2 separate regions of the Homo sapiens genome follow, and region 2 is linked to region 1. Evidence: promoter capture Hi-C in 16 types of primary human blood cells and fetal thymus (Javierre and others, 2016). All regions are on one chromosome and are shown on one strand. Each heading gives the region's core, a stretch centred on a gene start or on the middle of the fragment in contact. The rest is flanking DNA. Distances are from core to core; before and after follow the strand shown.

The links. Contacts are between HindIII fragments. The CHiCAGO score rates a contact against its expected background, and 5 or more counts as called.
Region 2: a fragment that was not itself captured here is called in contact with the fragment with the promoter of KCNN4 in region 1 in 1 of 17 cell types (activated CD4 T cells); the score reaches 5.6 in activated CD4 T cells.

What each region holds. Positions count from the first base shown.
Region 1 is chr19:43,779,719-43,782,230 of GRCh38, forward strand. KCNN4 (potassium calcium-activated channel subfamily N member 4) reads right to left here and starts at 1,255. Exons shown (of 9, transcript NM_002250.3): 1 at 985-1,255. The coding sequence starts at 1,143. RefSeq lists enhancers at 1-142, 501-630 and a silencer at 1,237-1,506. The HindIII fragment of the contact is 12,714 bases long and covers 1-2,512 here.
Region 2 is chr19:43,484,449-43,486,960 of GRCh38, forward strand. PHLDB3 (pleckstrin homology like domain family B member 3) reads right to left here. Exons shown (of 16, transcript NM_198850.4): 11 at 2,332-2,422; 12 at 2,161-2,248; 13 at 1,818-1,874. Among named protein-coding and RNA genes, the nearest start is that of PHLDB3, 19 kb to the right of the region's middle. The HindIII fragment of the contact is 5,698 bases long and covers 1-2,512 here.

The DNA.
Region 1 (2,512 bases), core at 5-2,504:
CACCACTCATCTTCGGAGTCAGCCCCTCTTCCCCAAAAGCAATCAAAACCCCCTTCTCCTTAAGACTCAGGAATCCAGGACCCAGCCCCCTCCTCTCCTGGTACCTAGGAGTCCAGGCCACTGTAAGCCTACCTCTCCACTATTTCCCTGACTAATCAGCATGCAGATTTGGGGAGAAATTGAGCTTGTTAACAGTGGAGACTGGGTTGGGGTTGGTGGGGGGAGGCAGGTCGGGGGAGAGGTTTGTTTCCCATTTCCCATCCCCACCCCCAAGGCAGTTTTTTCTGTCCTTTGCATCTAAGGCACTGGGTAAACATTAGAGGTTAGACAAGGACCAAAGAGCTGCCGCCTACTGGAAGAACTTTGTCTTTCCTCCACTCTCCCTTCACCAAACCTGGGGCTACCTCTCCCCTTATTGGCTCTTGGGGGGCTTGAGTGTCTGATCAGCCACCCTCTGGCCTCCAGGGGTCCTGGACCTCTGGCCGTCTAATGGCAACATCTTCAAAGACTGAAACACTGAAACAAATATTCCCTTCCTTTTGCAGAGAAGGACCCCAGCAACTGTCTCCTGGGAGCACCCAGGAGTCCCAGCCAAAGCCCCTCCTCCCTCAGACCCAAGAGTCTAGGCCCCCAACCTCTCCTCCCTCAGATCCAGGAGTCCTGACCCCCAGCCCCTCCTCCCTCAGACCCAGGAGTCCAGACCCCAGCCCCTCCTCCCTCAGACCCAGGAGTCCTGACCCCCAGCCCCTCCTCCCTCAGACCCAGGAGTCCAGGCCCTCAGTCCCTCCTCCCTCAGACCCAGGAGTCCAAGTCCCCAGTCCCTCCTCCCTCAGACCCAGGAGTCCTGACCCTCAGCCCCTCCTCCCTCAGACCCAGGAGTCCTGACCCCCAGCCCCCCCTCCCTCAGACCCAAGAGTCCTGACCCCCAGCCCCTCCTCCCTCAGACCTAGGAGTCCCAGCTCCCAGCCACCATGCCCCACTCACCGAGCACCCCCCGAACCACAGCATCTCTGCATGCAGCACCATGAGTCCAATGCCAGTTCCTGCCAGCACCAGTGCCCAGCCGGCCAGAGACTTCTCCTGCTCCAGCAAGCGCTTTCGGCGTCTCAAGGCCCCCAGGCCAAGCACCAGATCCCCGCCCATGGCCCCCGGGGTCTTGGGGCTCAGCCAGCTTCCTGCCCAGGGTCCCCCACCTCGCAGCACGCACAGGGCAGCCACTGTGGCTTGCAGGTCGTCAGCCTGCTCTGCTGGCTCTGGGACTTTTGCTCTGAGGCACAGCAGAGCCCTGTGCCCTCTGGGGAGTGGTGACGGCCAGGCAGGGCGGGGAGGGGCAGGGGAGGCCCCAGGGTAGGGGGAGGCTCCCCAGCTCCCCCTTTTGAGAATAAGGAGGGGCTAGGGTGTGTCTTGGGGCAGAGCAAGAAAGAGACGTCCATCCACGTGGATAAAGACACACACAGACACACGATGGGCTTTGTCACACACAATGGTCTGTACTTTGTGACACACACCTCTACTCACCACACCCAGACACCGAAGGACACTCCACAGCCCAAGACGGAGACTAACACACCAGGGCACACAACACAACCTACACAGAGTGACTCACAACTCCCAGCAAGCTCTGAAACCCACAGCCACACCCAGACACCACACACATGGTGTGACACACACCAGCACTTAGCAAGCAGGCAGTATCCCGTGGCACACACAGCCACCCAAACACCGTCCACACACAGGCACAAATATTACACTCAAAGTTGTCACAACTTTCTCTGACACAAAGAGCCACACCCAAACACCACAAATAGGACGATGCACAACTGTGGCCACACAAACACAACATACACCAGGTGTTACACAAACACACAATATATATTAAAGTAGTGACGCCCTGATGCCACACACCACACACCGACACAAACACTGTGCAGTCCCAGTTTCCTAAACACTACACACCCTTGGAACGAAACCCAATACGTGTAGACACACAACATTTAGGGACATACCTATAGTAGCCCCCAATCACCCAGAGCTAGAGAATTGCACATACATTGTGGCGCCTGTTGACTCGAACACAAGTGCTCGCAGTGATGATTCAAAACACGCACTGATTCAGCATGCTCTGATGTGTGGTGCGATTCAAATGTATGGTCAGAGGACAAGCTGAGTGGATGCATGCAGAGACCTACAAGGTACAGCGACACACGGAGAAACCCAAGAAGCACATGCCTGAAGCAAGATGATTCTGGTATATTCTGGCCACACAGGACAACATCCAGGATGATGCCCTGGGGGAAGGGGATGGGGTTGGACCTTCATAGACCCCAGTGCCCAAATGCAACATACGGCTGGGTGCAGTGGCTCATGCCTGTAATCCCAGCAGTTTGGGAGGTTGAGGTGGGAGGATTGCTGGAGCCCAGGGGTTTGAGACCAGCCTGGGCAACATAGCAAGATCCTATCTCTAAAACAAGCAAAAACAAAAAAACAAACGCAACATACACCATCACCTCTG
Region 2 (2,512 bases), core at 13-2,512, 300 kb before region 1:
TTTAATCCCAGCACTTTTTGAGGCCAAGGCACACAGATCACCTGAGGTCAGGAGTTCAAGACCAGCCCGGACAGCATGGCAAAACCCCATCGCTACTAAAAACAAACAAAAAAAATAAATGGGTGTGGTGGTGGGCACCTGTACTCCCAGCTACTCGGGAGGCTGAGGTAGAAGAATCGCTTGAACCAGGGAGGCAGAGGTTCCAGTGAGCTGAGATCACATCACTGCACTCTAGCCTGGGCGACAAGAGTAAAACTCTGTCCCCCAAAAAACAAGCCTATCTATTGGAGATACACAGTGATGTTTGAGTGAAAGGATACAATATTTTGCTTTAAAATATTTCAGTGCAGAGTGGGATGTAGGTATGGGATTAGTAAAATAAAATTGGTGGCTGGGCACCAATGCCCTAGAATTATTCTTATAATTCTAGCAGCTTGGAGGCTGACATGGGAGGATTGTTTGAGGCCAGGAGTTTGAGATCAGCCTGGACAACATAGCAAGACTCTATCTCTACAAAAATAAAATACATTAAAAATATAGGAGTGCAGAAGACTTATGAGAAAAAAAGAAAAATATTAAAAATAAAAATAAAATATATATACCTAGTACATACACAAATTAAAATGTTAAATAAAATAAATAAAAAGTTGGCAAGTACAAGATTCAATATTGAAAATGATTAAAGCTGCGCAGTGGGCACCTGGGGGTCTATTAATCTACTCCTTCTCTCATGCATATGCTTGAATATTTCTATCGTAAAAAGGTTTTTTGTTTTTTTTTTTGAGACAGAATCTTGGTCTGTCACCAAGACTGGAGTGCAGTGGTGTGATCTTGGCTCACTGCAACCTGCACCTCCCAGGTTCAAGCAATTCTCTGCCTCAGCCTCCTGAGTAGCTGGGATTACAGGTGCCCGCCACCATGCCCGGCTAATTTTTTGTATTTTTAGTAGAGACGGGGTTTCACCATCTTGGCCAGGCTGGTCTTGAACTCCTGACCTCATGATCCACCCACCTCAGCCTCCCAAAGTGCTGGGATTACAGGCGTGAGCCACTGCGCCCGGCCTAAAAAGTTTTTTAAATAAATAAAAATAAAAACAGTTTTTTGGTTTTGATTTTTTTTTTTTTTTGAGACAGATTTTCGCTCTTATTGCCAAGGCTGGAGTGTAGTGGTACAATCTCGGCTCACTGCAACCTCCACCTGCGGGTTCAAGTGATTCTCATGCCTCAGTCTCCCGAGTAGCTGGGATTACAGGCATGTGCCACCATGCCCGGCTAATTTTTGTATTTTTAGTAGAGATGGGGTTTCACCATGCTGGCCAGGCTGGTCGCAAACTCAGGTGATCCACCCGCCTTGGCCTCCCAAAGTGCTGGGATTACAGGCATGAGCCACTGCACCCAGCCAAAAACAAAATTTTAAATGATTTTTAAAAGTTCCAGCATGGACTGGGCATGGTGGTTCACGCTATAATCCCAGTACTCTGGGAGGCTGAGGCAGGAGGATTGCTTGAGGCCAGGAATAAGTCCCAGCATGGACTTGTCCTCCTTCTGTACTGACTGCTGACATTGTCACCAATGTACAGAAGAGGAAAATGAGGCAGAGTAGAGCAAGTTACCCGAGGACCTGCCACACATGGAGATGACCATCATCCGGTCATGGGAACAGGAACTGGTCCTCTGCAGTTCCCTTTCCCTTGCCAAGCCCAGGACAATTTTCTGTTCAATTGGAGGAGAGGAAAGGGTCAGATGTAAGAAAGGGCATAGGTCAGGGGGAGAAACAGAGCAGGGAGAGGTGGGCGTGAGGGCGGGGGTGGGACTGACCGTGATGGCAGGAACAGCAGGGCCTGAGGAACCTTCCGTGCCCCTTCTTGTTCCTTCCTGTGGATTCAGGATGAAGCACTCAATGAGGATCCCAGCCCATAAGATGGTAGGGTGGCTGGAGAATGTCCTAGCTTCTCTGTTCTGAGGGTACAGGGACTGGGGGCCTGGACTCCTGGGTATGAGGGAGGATGGGCTGGGGGCCTGGACTCCTGGGTCTGAGGGTGGAGGGGCTGGGGGCCTGGACCCCTGGGTCTGAGGGAGGTGGAGTTGGGGGTCTCCCAGGTCTGAGGGAGGAGAGGCTGGGGCAGTCTTCTGTTCCGAAGAGGATGGCCTGGGCTCTCACCCGGGCCTTGAGCAGCCGCTCCCTCTCCGCCATGGCCTGCTGCAGGAGCCGCTCCATGTGGGCAATGTCTGGATGGATGGCCCCACAGCTAGGAGGAGGGAACACAGACGGGGTGGGTTACAGTGGCTGGGCCTCTTCTTCCATCTCCCCACCTTCTCTCTGATGTCTCACCTATTCCCACGGCCACAGTTCAGCAGCTGGTAGAGGGGGTATCTGCCGGAGTCCCCCACTGCTGGCGGGAGAGCTGAGGCCTCCAGGGATTCTAGGGTAGAGGGGACCAGGTTACAGGGCTGGATACACCCTGGCCTGAGCCTATCCACTTCTCCCCTGCAGGCATAGGTGCGGGTTTCCT